Regions from separate parts of the Homo sapiens genome. Here all the other regions are linked to region 2. Evidence: promoter capture Hi-C in 16 types of primary human blood cells and fetal thymus (Javierre and others, 2016). All regions are on one chromosome and are shown on one strand. Each heading gives the region's core, a stretch centred on a gene start or on the middle of the fragment in contact. The rest is flanking DNA. Distances are from core to core; before and after follow the strand shown.

What was found. The method cuts DNA at HindIII sites, captures the fragments that hold promoters and counts their contacts. A CHiCAGO score of 5 or more calls a contact.
Region 1: a fragment that was not itself captured here is called in contact with the fragment with the promoter of TMEM52B in region 2 in 2 of 17 cell types (naive CD8 T cells and total CD8 T cells); the score reaches 6.3 in naive CD8 T cells.
Region 3: a fragment that was not itself captured here is called in contact with the fragment with the promoter of TMEM52B in region 2 in 1 of 17 cell types (neutrophils); the score reaches 5.2 in neutrophils.
Region 4: a contact is called between a fragment that was not itself captured here and the fragment with the promoter of TMEM52B in region 2, in 1 of 17 cell types (naive CD8 T cells). The highest score is 5.6, in naive CD8 T cells.

Annotation. Positions count from the first base shown.
Region 1 is chr12:10,733,259-10,736,387 of GRCh38, reverse strand. All of the region lies in intron 1 of LOC112268104 (a long non-coding RNA gene), which reads left to right. Among named protein-coding and RNA genes, the nearest start is that of YBX3, 12 kb to the right of the region's middle. The HindIII fragment of the contact is 3,643 bases long and covers 1-3,129 here.
Region 2 is chr12:10,177,380-10,180,494 of GRCh38, reverse strand. TMEM52B (transmembrane protein 52B) reads right to left here and starts at 1,463. Exons shown (of 5, transcript NM_001384896.1): 1 at 867-1,463. The coding sequence starts at 920. RefSeq lists an enhancer at 1-1,105. The HindIII fragment of the contact is 29,503 bases long and covers 1-3,115 here.
Region 3 is chr12:9,639,072-9,642,414 of GRCh38, reverse strand. It overlaps the pseudogene LOC374443 and the pseudogene GOT2P3. Among named protein-coding and RNA genes, the nearest start is that of CLEC2D, 29 kb to the left of the region's middle. The HindIII fragment of the contact is 5,494 bases long and covers 1-3,343 here.
Region 4 is chr12:10,709,636-10,713,176 of GRCh38, reverse strand. YBX3 (Y-box binding protein 3) reads left to right here. Exons shown (of 10, transcript NM_003651.5): 6 at 3,063-3,269. Among named protein-coding and RNA genes, the nearest start is that of YBX3, 12 kb to the left of the region's middle. The HindIII fragment of the contact is 301 bases long and covers 1,824-2,124 here.

The sequences.
Region 1 (3,129 bases), core at 78-2,577, 560 kb before region 2:
TAATATTATATTTCAGTGTTGTTCTACCCCATTTTCATAATCAATTCACATATCTCTATAAAGAAAATTTACACCTATTTTGTTGTCCTCTTCACAGCATACAAAAAGAAACCATTTTTTTTAGCCTGAATGAGAGATGTTTCAAAGACAGGAACCATCAGAAAAATCAGTGGCTGGATGGAGGGGCGATAAGTTCCCCGAGTTCCTCAAGAGCTGAATATGTGAGCTGAGCACAGGGGACATTTCTTGCCTGTGCCTTTCAGAAACTGAGTCTTCTTGGAAATTTTTCTTTCTTCCAGAACAGTTCCAAATCCACTTATTGAGAGGGCTACTCAGAGTCTTTATTAGTCTCAGAGAACTTGGAGTCTCAGATAATGGAGTAGCCATGTGGGGCTTACACAGAGATATGAGGTTTTTTTAATTGGTGGGAAACAGTGAGTTACTCATTCAAACCAAATCTTCAGTCAAGCCTCTTCATCCTTGAAGCCATTCCATTTCTCCTTTCCCCCTGACCCTTGGGTCATAGTCCCCTGCTCACATCCATCCATGTTTGGGAAAAGAATGAGAGGGTGGTCCCACTCTCCTTGCTCTTCATCCATTACCAGGTGAAGGTTTAGACTGTACTTTCCTCTCTCAAATTTCCAGTTTATTATTGTCTAAAAATCTTTCCCAAGCACAACCAGTTCTCTGTAAGAGAGAAAGTACCTGGTAAGAGCTGGTTCACTTTTCCCAGTTCCTAAGCACAGTGTGTGAGTCAAGCAAAAGAGGTGTCAATTGCATGTGGCTTCTACTGAGACAAGAGTGGCCCCACTGGAACTCCCCCTCTTAAAGAACCCCAAAACACACTCAGCTTTTTCATCAAAGCACTAATTGTGTGGTTAGTTGTGAGCACATAAATTTTCCTCAAAAGCACAATAAAAGAAGGGTGATTGCACACCCCTAAACTCTAAACACCTATCTTATAAATGTGTCCCTTCTGATGATGAGGATAAGCACACATTTACTGGGTATTTTGGTTGTGACAAGTATTATTCTAAGCACTTTATGCACTTTGTCTCATTTAATTATCACAACAACCTTACTATTTTTTAAGAGCTGGGGTCTTGCTCTGTCACTGACACTGGAGTCTAGTGGTGCCATCAAAGCTCACTGCAGCCTTGAACTCCTAGGCTCAAGTGATCTTCCTGCCTCAGCCTCCCGAGTAGCTAGGACTACAGATGTGCGTCACTGCACAGCGAATTTCTTTTCTTCTTTATTTTGTAGAGTCAGGGTTCTATTATGTTGCCCAGGCTGCTCTCAAATTTCTTGGCTTCAAGTGATCCTCCCACCTCAGCCTCCCAAAGTATTGAAATTACAGGCATAAGGCACCATGCTCGGCAAGAGGTACTATCATTATTATTTCATTTTACTGATGAAGAAACTGAAGAAAAGAAATGGAAATTTTTCCAAAGTTGCACAGCTTGTAAAACTGAAACCCAGGACATATGACTTCAAATCTCCATTATCCAGTCATCCATTTTGCCTGGGACTAAGGCATTTCCCAGGATGTGGGACTTTCGGTGCTAAAATTTCAAAATGATACTGGTAGAGCTAGTGTCGCTATGGGGCCAGTCTCTTTGAGGTCCCAGGCTCTCTCCAGGTGCCTCAGGCCACCACATTAATGGTAGGTTAAAGTCTGTGACAATTCAGTGGGGGTACCAGCAGCATCCAAGCATTCACAGAAGTTGATTCTCTGGTGAGAACGAGAGAAGCGTATCCAGTGTGGATATGCAGGGGCCCCAGTTACCTAAAACTTTGAAAAGTAGCATTCAGACATTTTAATTGCCACCTTAATTCCCCATCAACTCTCTCCTGGGCCTTGGGCCAATCCACAGAAAAGGATCTATTTGCCTGCACCCTGTCTCCTGCTATGGAAGGAAACAGTTTCTTTTACCAGATTCACTAGTTGAGAGAAGTTTGGCAAAGGGATTGAGTACAGTCAGATTAGGCTTTGCAGACAGAAGGACGCTCAGCTTTGCTCCTGCCCATACCAGGGCTGAATGGGCCAGCTAACCTTACTATGAATATAGTCAGCTTCCCCGAGCTTTCTGGCAACATTTGGGATGTTTACCTACAATCTTCTCTGGTTTTAAGAACCCAGAACCAGCTGTCAAGTATCTTGAACTAGTCTCAGAAACACATGACTTGAGAGCAGTAGTGGCTTCCTGAGGTTGACATCCCCAGAAGTTCCAGAGGTCATCTTCCTTTCTCAGCTACCTGCAACCTCATTATTGAGCCTTAATCAAGATAGAAATGTCTTCTCTCTTGGGATGGAAATTGTGTCTCCTAAAAACACTCTCGGTTTCTGGTAGGTAATCATCTCCAACTTAATCTAAGTGGCATTTCCAGGTTCTGTCATCTGTCCCATCATGTTAAACCATGTGTCAGATGGCATGTCCAAGTTTGAGGAAATGATGTTTGCCTTGTGCCCAGGATTCTGAAAACATAACGCCACCACCTTAGAGCAGAAGTTTAATTTTTAACAGTCCATTCTGAAATGATGGTCTTATAGTCAGGCCCCCAAAAAGTACTCTCCAGGTAATGCTAAACACCAGAACAGGATTGTATTTACCCTCATTTAATTTCTTTATCTTCTGCTGGACAATCTTATATGTGTAATTGTGTAGTAACTTTCAAACAGTCTCACCATGGTCTGCTAGACACATATCACTAGGGACTTGTGAAAGTGCACACCCAAATCTATACCAGAGTCACAGCTAGGCTGACCAGTCATCCAGTTTGCCTGGGACTAAGGCATTTCCCAGGATGTGGGACTTTCGGTGCTAAAATTTCAAAATGATTTGGCTTCAGTGTTAAGAGTTGTAATCTACCCATGGCTCCGATATGGACCACACAAATACTTTGGTAATTCCAGTGGCAGGGGGGCCGGGGGGAAGGCATATATAAGAGACATGAATCGTAGTCCACATATTTGGGTGTGGTGGGAAAAAAAGTCATATCATGTATCAGTCAGGGCCCTGGCAGGAAAAAGCATGATAAAAGGCAATTAATTGAGATTTTTAACAACAACGACAACAAAATACCGTAAAATGTGTAGGTAGGATTAGGGGAAATCAACCAGGAATGGTG
Region 2 (3,115 bases), core at 214-2,713:
CATGGTACTTTCTTTCACTTTCTTCACTAAAGGTAAGAGAAGCCTAAAGTGCTCAGCAGAGAAAATGCTACTTTTCAGGCTTGTTGCAAAGAGAAAAGAAAGGAAAAATGAAGGGAAGACAAGGCAAAGGGAGTGAAGAGGAAGCAAAAAGAAAATATAAGAAAAAATGGATTTTCAGATACCACTTTAACTGTTCTATTAGCAAAAAAAAAAAAAAAACAAACCATACAGCCCACTCTGTACGGGGGCCATACGGGAATCTGAGACTATCCAGTTTTCTTCATTTGCTCTCCTTCTTGCTAGATGGCATAGCTCTATAAACTTCCCTGTGACAATTGTTTAGAATCCCTCAGTCCAGTGACCCTTTTCTCCACTAATGGATTACTCAGAGACTTCTGATTCATTGTGGGGCCCAAAATATTTTAAAAGAGCCCTGCCTCTCTTATTTCTAGACTAGAGGCACCTAAACTGCTAGAACAGGATTAGAAATTCCTGGATGGGAAATTCCGTTTAGGGGAATTACACACCTAGTTTTCATAATTTGTTTGGAATTTTGAGGGATGGGTGATAAGATGCTAAAAGAGATAAAATACTTCAGCGGCACTTCTAAAGTGCCACGGCAATCCTGCTCGTTTCCATGCTCACTCTAATTTCTGTCCCCCTTTTCATTGTCATTGCCATCAGTCACACATGCATCTATGCAATCTCGTAATACTAAGGAAACTTTGTAGTTTATTCATTTCCCTATGACCCCCTGGGTTCTGTATATGTCTCCCCACCCCGCAGTTCATTTCCTTTCAGACTCTTCTGAGAGTTGATTAATCTGGGGAAAAATACTCTTTCTGCCTTTTCACCACTGAACTCACCAGGATGAAATACAGCAGGGCTGAGGCCGCCACGACATGAACTCGGACTCCCATCGGGCTGAATTCCTGCTTCTTCAGAATCTTGCACTGGGCATCCGTTGCCTCCTTTCAATGCTCTGTGCCATATTTTACTTCTTGACCTAGAATTCTTAAGAAGAGAAACTTTTCTCAGGAATTTATCAGCTTTTCTCTCTCTCGTTCTCTCTGTCTCCTCCTACTCGCTCTGGCTGTTATTTTCTATGGCTTTTCCCTCTTCTTTCCTGTTTTTCTTCTTTATTCTTATTACTATTTCTATGGCCTCCACATTTACTTCCTTTTGCCTTCTTTCTTTCCGTTACACTATTAATTCTTTCTACATCTTGAAGTTTCTTTCTCCTACTGCTCCCAAAAAGGAGACATTCAAAGAGGACATATGTGTCCTCTGAATGAAGTATTTTTCTAGACAGCGATGAAAAACTTGGCTTTGAGGATGGTCAAAGGCAGATTGCTGGTGACCAAATATATTCCTTTCTTCATCAGAAAACTGGTAATATTCTTGATCCTTCACCAGAGTACTCCAGCGTGACTGTTGCAGGGTGAAAGTCACCCTGCTAATCTCCTTTCTTCTCTCTCCGTGTGACTAACAACCCCTTCTTGCTCTTTGAAACCCTCCCCTTCACTATGTTGATAATCAACTCTCCTGGTTCTGGGTCATTTATATCCCTAAGCATTGGGGTAAGACTGAGAGGTTGCCAAGTGAACAGGAAAGCCATCTCATCTTTGGAGAAAACAGACTTGAAGATGAGAAATCAAGTCGGAAGATTAGAATTTTCAGGTGTTATCAGTGACATCTTCCTCCTCCCTGACTTCACTTCCCATTGAAATAGATAACTGAGAAAGACATTTTTTTAAAACCAAATTTTAAAAAAGCAAATGTATAGGTTTCTTTCTTTCTTGCCTTTTCTTTGTTCCTTCTTTCTCTCTCTTTCTCTCTCTCTCTCTCTCTTTGGTTAAGGAGTGATGTGATTGAGAAATAAGTCTTGTCACTCAGGAAAATAAAACCTAAGGTTAGAGTAAAAACAAGCACACATGCAAAAGCATAGAATACTTTTTTTTTTTTTTTTTTTGAGACGGAGTCTTGCTCTGTCACCCAGGCTGGAGTGCAGTGGCGCAATCTCGGCTCACTGCAAACTCTGCCTCCTGGGTTCATGCCATTCTCCTGCCTCAGCCTCCCGAGTAGCTGGGAATACTGGCGCCCACCACCACGCCCGGCTAAGTTTTTTTGTATTTTTAGTAGAGACGAGACGGGGTTTCACCATGTTAACCAGAATGGTCTCGATCTCCTGACCTCATGATCCGCCCGACTCGGCCTCCCAAAGTGCTGGGATTACAGGCGTGAGCCACCGTGCCTGGCCTAGAATACTTACAATGAAACAAAGCTATAGACACAAATGTGGCCGGGTGCCATGGCTCATGCCTGTAATCCCAGCACTTTGGGAGGCCAAGGCGGGCTGATAACTTCGGCCAGGAGTTTGAGACCAGCCTGGAGAACATGATGAAACCCTTTCTCTACGAAACATACAAAAATTAGCTGTGTGTCATGGCAGGCACCTGTAATCCCAACTACTTGGGAGGCTGAAGCAGGAGGGCCACTTGAACCCGGAAGGCAGAAGTTGCAGTGAGCCGAGATCACACCACTGCACTCCAGCCTGGGTGATAGAGCGAGAATCTGCCTCAAAAAAGCAAAATATTAAAAGAAACAAAAGAATGCTGTATGAATGATTTATACTTAAGTAGGTGATCTTTTACTTAATACCAAATGTTTAATAAAAAAATTATTATTATTATTATTATTATTATTATTATTATTATTATTATTATTTGAGACAGAGTCTCTCTGTCACCAGGCTGGAGGGCAGTGGTGCAATCTCGGCTCACTGCAACCTCTGCCTCCTGGGTTCAAGCAATTCTCCTGCCTCAGCCTCCTGAGTAGCTGGGATTATAGACACCTGCCACGACACCCAGCTAACTTTTCTATTTTCAGTAGAGACAAGGTTTTACCATATTGGCCAGGCTGGGATAAGAAAAGTAGAAGTTAGTTTACAGTGATATATCTATCTCATAAGAATTGAATAAAACCTCCTTTCAGGACCTTTCTAGCTCAGTAAATCTAATTATGCTGAGTGATTGTGGAAGGGAGACTCTTGGGTGAGCTGATCATACTCTAAGGGTCCTCACACATAGCTTGATGATGGGATATGAGAATGCAG
Region 3 (3,343 bases), core at 573-3,072, 540 kb after region 2:
ATTGTTGCTGTATCCTTCCACTGTTCCAGACCTGGGTCCACTCCCGTGGGATTGTGGGTGCAGGCATGCAGAAGAACAACATTTTGCTCTGGTATTTTTGAAAGGCCCTCCACAGCGCCTGTGAAGTCAAAATCGCAAGTCTTGGGGTCATAAAGCCGATAACCTTGTAGCTGCATGCCAGTGTCCCTGAAGATGGGCGTGTGATTTCCCCAGCTTGGTTTGGGCAGAAAGACATCTCAGCTGAACTTAAAAAATCTTTGCAGAAAGCTGGCTCCAATCCTTAAGGCTCCAGTTCCAGAAATGGTCTGCACAATGACAAACCGGCCACTTTTCAAGACTTCGCTGTTCTCACCAAGGGCTAGTTCTGCAGATGCCTTGCAAAATTCAGCCAGTCCCCCAGTGGACAGGTATTCCTTGTCCAAACTTTTTGTGGCAATCTGGGCCTCTGCCTTGGGGACGCTAGGCAGCACGTCCAAGGCTTTCCGTTATCATCCCGGTAGGCACCAACTCCCAGATTCATCTTTTTGCTATTGGTGTCCCTCTTAAAGTCTTCAATGACTGCCAGGATGATATCTGGAGGTCCCATTTCCACATGGGTCCATCAGGAGCTGGCTCTGGCAGAGGCCGCAGCTGCGAGGCCCAGGTGGAAGGTGGCAGCGATCCCAGAGAGGACGCAGCCAGAGTGCAGCAGGGCCACGGTGGACAGTAGGAGGGCAGTGGGCAGCTGCAGGACTGAGCAGAGGGCTCTCTGTAGTGTTTTAATTGCGAGAGACGATTTGTGAGGCTGATCTGAAGCTGTAGCCAATCTGGTCTGCTTTGCATGTCTTTCTGTATGGTCCATAGCAAATTTGCTGAGGACCTCCATCTTGTTTAACATCCTTGGGAGCAAGACCTGTAACCACTTGGCAAGGTTTTGTGTAGCCTCTGTGTAGCTTGGATTCAATCCTGGCTTAGGGAATGAGTCTTACCTGGTTTGATATCTGCATGACCTTTTGCTATTTGTTGATTCCATTTCTCTCCATGAACTGCCTTGGATTTTCCTTTCTCTGAGCCTTTAGTAAAGTTTGAAAGCCAGAAATATTGGCCACTTGGTGTGGCTAAATTCAGATAATAAGGGAGTTAAGAGGAATTTCTTAAGGAGTGCTCAGCTTAACTAAAAGTGGATATCCAAGTTAGAGTCATATTTAAAAGGTTTCCCTTTTCTTGGACCTTGTTTTGCTGGGAAAAGGTTTTTCTTGGTCAACTGAATTATTTTTTCTTCATTTTGCTTTGCCACTTTTTTAATGCACGCACAAGAGAGGAGAGACCTCTTTTTTTTCTCATGGACTCCAGAAATTAAAAGCACCCAGAGGCCAATAATCCAATTAGGAGATTGGCAAATGAAAGATCTTATGGGGACCGGGTTATCTTCTACCTGTCTGTGTAATTCTATATGTGTTGTGTGTGTGATGTTTACATAAAAAAAAGAGCTCTAATTAATTTTGCCTAAAGGAAGACAAGCACTTGGATCAAATATTTTATGAAAGAGAAGATAAAAAGCTGTGGTACCTTTCAGTTCACGTGACTTTAATCTTGGAGAAATAAAAACAGCCTTAAAGATTATTGGTAAAAAGCAGATGTCATAAAAATGTAAATAGGTGGACTAAATTATGCAGGTCAGATACTAGGTTGGCAAAATATTTTAAGGTCATAAACTGCTTTTTTGGTTTTTGAGAACTTTTCAATTTGCTGGCTTCACAATTGGCAAGGCCTGGGGACACATGGAACTAAACACTCCCTTAATTATGTTGGAAGGAGTCAAACCTTGGCTGCATCTAGCACATAATCAAAACAACTTACCAGGTTTTACATTAAAGTTAAAAACTGCTAAAAGTTACCATTATGACATGTAATTGAGACTATTGGAAATAGATTTACATGCAAGGTGCATAAGGACAGTGAAATGTGTTTTTAATAAAGATTATAAGAAATCATAAAAATGTAAATTCCTGCCTAGGGTTGAAGATTTGTTTTAAATTAGATAAGATAAAGCTAAAAGTTCAAACAACTGGTGGAAGGATTGTAAAAATTAATCTTGCAACAAATTCTCTGTGTGAACATATTGACTAACTTCAAAAAGTATTGTATGATTTTTCTGTAAATTGAGCATTCAAATAAAAGCACAGCAAGGTATCCTTAAGGCACTAATCTGCTCGTCAGCAAAATTTGTATGAAAGGGCTGTACAAGGTTTTTTCTTTAAAAAAATTTCTTAGTTGTTATTTCAGCAAAATAAATAACTTATGGTAATCCGGAATTCTATTTCATAACAGCAAGTATTTTAAGCCTCTAATATATTTAATAGGCTTTCCAAAATCAAACTTCAGTTTCAAAATTGTCTTTTCTGACACCTGGCTTTTCAGATACTTCAGAGGGCCCCTGGAGTGTTCAGAAAAGAAAGGTAAACAGGATTATGTGACACGTTTAGGTACATGGGATTGCCAAAATGGTATTCAGTCTTCTTTAGGTCATATTTTGGTGAATAATACTAATATGTGTTCCAAAATTGTATGGAATTTCTAAAATTCTAATGTCTAAAGAATATCCTATCAATCATAATTAAAGTTGTTAAGTTATTGTAAACTACAGAGATAACAAAACTTTGTCAATTGTGTTTCTAACTGTAACTACCCTGGACATATTGTTATTCACAGACAATTGTTGTTTTAATCTTTTTCAAAAGATGGTTTATAATAAGCTAGAGAACTTTTACAAGTGCTCTCAGATACAGGTTTCTCATACCTTTGGGGATTGTGACATTGGAATAAAGGAAAAATGTACAGAACTCATGAAGAGCTAAAATGTTCATAAATATCAAGCAAAATAAGGGTTAACTGGGTGAACTCAAAAAAATGAAGCAATCTTTCTCAATTTTGCTTGGATATTGCTGATCCTTGTTTTGTTTTTTAGAGTCAAGAAAACATATTTTGAACTATTTATAGCCTTTAATCATTGAGTAGAGTATACTCCTGTGAACAAAATTTGGAGTATATTTGCTTCTCTCTGCCTGGTTCCTGTAGAATTTGGAAATTATCTGTGAGTATTCTTAACTTACAGCAATATACTTGTTTGCATCAGTGCAGTAAAAATCCATTTTCTTTTGCAACAGGATGCAATTGGAGTAACTGGTTGTTTTACCAAGGCTTTGACTGGAAGGGTATGCTTCTCTTTAAGGAGTCAAGCTCAACTTGCAGAGCCAATAAAAGTCCCTTGGGGAAGGCCGGGCGTGGTGGCTCACACCTGTAATCCCAGCACTCTGGGAGGCCAAGGCGGGCGGATCACCTGAGGTTGGGAGTTTGAGACCAG
Region 4 (3,541 bases), core at 725-3,224, 530 kb before region 2:
AAATTGTTCATGCATGGAATTAAGTGTATGTACTTGGAGCAGATAAATGCCTTGTCTTCTCCTGGAGACAAATGATTTAAGTGATTTTTATTTTTTCTTTAGAGGAAATTTTTATCTTATTTTTTAAAATGTGTATTATTGATTTCCATAGGTTTTTGGGAAACCGGTGGTGATTAGTTACATGAATAAGTTCTTTAGTGGTGATTTCTGAGATTTTGGTGCACCCATCACTGGAGCAGTATACACGGTACTCTTAAGGGGAAATTTTAGCGCTCAGAACTTTTCCAGAGCCGCTGGTCTCATTAGACACTTGCCATTCAGAAGTTGTATCAGTTAGGATATATTTGGCTACAAGTAATAGACATTTAATTATCTTTTAACAGGAAGACTTAAGGGAGACAGTGCTGAGGTTTTTTTTAACAAGGTTTCTCTTCATTTGGCTCTTTTTTCTGGCCAGAACCTAGTCACAGACATTCACTGGCAAAGGGGAATGGATTTCCATCATTGACTTAACCTTGTTGTTCATTCTTTGGTGCCGACACTGTTGACCTCTAAGAAAATCAAAATTTGGTTGGTGAAAGAGTGAGAAATAACTTGTGAACAGGCAATAAAAGTACAGGCCACAGAACTATTAACGAATTTGCCTTGGTTAAGAGGCTGTTTTATTTAGCATAGCATTTTTCCATTATTTCAAAGTAAAGAAGCAATAAGTGATTCTGTGGATTTTTAGTTCTTTAGGTTGGTTTCAATGCAGGGGAAAGAGTTTGTCACAAATCTGGCTGGAGCTTTCTTGGGAGGCTCAGTTTATAGGAGTATTCTCAAGGCACCCAAAACGGACCCAGTATATTTGTGGTCATGAGAAACTTACTAGATTTGAATCATTCTTGGTGTTTCTAGAATTAGAACCAGGTATTGGCACATTGAAGAAAACTCCGAATGTTTGTCAGCACAGGATTGTGACTGCCTGTCTCATCCAAAGAAAAACTCATCAGAATTAAATATCTGCAGATTGAGAATGACCTATCTTTATGTTTTGATAGCTTTATATCTTTCTGTTTACCTAAATGCTTTTCCTCCTTATTCTGCCATCATCACATCCTGCCCAAATTAATTCTGTCAGATTCCTTAGGACTTCCCACTTGTTTCTTTGTTTTTGCTTATCTTATTTGGTTTTTAATAAGCTATGAGGGGGATAGCTAGGAATGAGCTGCTGTAGCATTTCCTACATCATGTTCTCTTTGAAGTTCATCAGAGTCACAGAGCGCTAACTGTGATTATTTTGACTCCCAGGTTAATTCAAAAGCAAAAGTGGTAGAAAAACATTCAGTGAAAAATTTTTCTTAAAGACTTTTCCTGTCCAAAACCTGAAAATTCCAAAGTCATGCATATAAAAGATATTTAGAAACAAAATTGTTAAAACGCTTAAGAAACAAAATTGTTAAAACTCTTAAAGTATACATAAATGAGCTTTTTTGTTGTAATATCTAAGTCCCAACAACTTGTTCAGTATCTCTCAAAAGAGTGTGTTCAGCATTGCTGGTGCCATTATTATGCTTTGTAAAACTCTTAAAGATTTGATTGTGTGAAATGCAAAAGAGGAAGATAAGCCCAAGAAGAAAAACAGTTTATGTTGTCTCACACTTAATATTTTGGTAAGCATTTTCTGTGCAAATAAACGTTTACATAATTGTGAATCTCATCTTTGGTAGAGGTTTTATGAAGAGTAGAATGACTTGATTTTTTTTGAAGTTAGACTAGTTGAGGCTTTTTTGGAGGGGGAGTTTGGTTGCACATGTGGACTTGTTCTGGAAGGGTCCAAAGCTTAAATACACTCCTGTAAAAAAAAGTAATGGGTCATTATTTTGCTTTTTTTATTTATTCATTTTTAAAAACTAGTTACTTCCCATTAAAGACATTTGCATATCCCCTTTAAAGTAAGACTTGAAATCACAGTCTTTGTAGGATGTTTGGTTTTTTAAAATGTAAAATGGTAGTATATGATATAATTTAAATAGAAGAAAAATATAAAATGAATCGGTAAATTCCTTTGTGAATATTAATAAGATCTATTATTTAGAAACCTCCAGGATTAGGGCTTACTACCATCAAAGTATGATTAAAGCTTTACTCCTAAACATATAAAGGGAGTCATGCCTTAGGTCAGTGGTTCTCAAACTTCCTGATTTTGGGATCTGTTTATATGCTTACATGTTATTGAGGATTCTAGAGTTTTTGTCAATGTTTATTTATATTAATATTATATTAGAAAGTAAAATAAACTTAAAATGTTAATTGATTAAAAATAACTATATGTTCATGAAAATAACAGTTTTTATGGAAAAAAAATATTTAAATTGAAAAGAGTGGTATTGCTTTATACTTTTGCAGATCTCTGATGTATGGTTTAATAGAAGATAGCTGGATTCTCACATCTGTTTCTGCATTCAGTCTGCTGAGAGACCACATGTCATTGTAGCCTTTGGGAGACCCCACCATATACTTCTGAGAGAATGCCTGGGAAAGGCAAATAGCATCTTAGTAATATTATGGCAATAGTTTGACCTCGCTGACCCCCTGGAAGTTTTCAGAAATCCCATCCACACTTTACAGACTTGTAGGAAGAATACCACTTGGGTCAAATATGTTGGTAACATCATAAAATGTATTCTTTTTTGGCTTTTCCCTGACATTGCCTCAGTGGATGGTAAATGCTGGGAGACACGCATTTGATGGAGCAAAAATTATAAACCTTGCAGATACTCTTCGGGTGGTTGGTTAGCTGATACGAGTTCTAATGAGATGACTATTAAATTGATTGTAGATTGATTGCTCTTGCTTTTCTGCTTCTTGGTATTTTATCTGCACAGATCTACTCTAATCTTAATGTAGTTTATCCCAGGCAATCACATGATAATCTGGGTTAAATGCATTTTGTCTGTATAATGGAAAGGATTATATTGCTTTGGGGAGATTTTATTTTGGTGATATTCATCCTAAATGGTGTTCTTTGGTTCTTTCCTTGCTAAAACTTCTTCTGAATCTCTGTTTCTTTGCTTCGCTAGTACGCTGGGGAGGAGGAGGAGGAAGGGAGCGGCAGCAGTGAAGGATTTGACCCCCCTGCCACTGATAGGCAGTTCTCTGGGGCCCGGAATCAGCTGCGCCGCCCCCAGTATCGCCCTCAGTACCGGCAGCGGCGGTTCCCGCCTTACCACGTGGGACAGACCTTTGACCGTCGCTCACGGGTCTTACCCCATCCCAACAGAATACAGGTAAAATTGCAACTGAGACTTCTCTTCAGCAATCCTCACCCTTCCGTCCTTCTCTGCCTCCTCTTCCTCCTCCTCCTCCAACATCAGCTGCCAGAAACCTTGCTTATGGCTTCCTGATGCTACAAAAGCTGAGGCAAGGCCTTCAGTCTGTTTTTTCAAAGCAGTCATTCCGGTAACACTTCTAAAAGCAAAACCACGTGATCCATGCCTATAATAGGGAACCCTTATGGCCAAAGTTTCTAGTTGATAGAAGAACAAAAGAATTAAGGTAA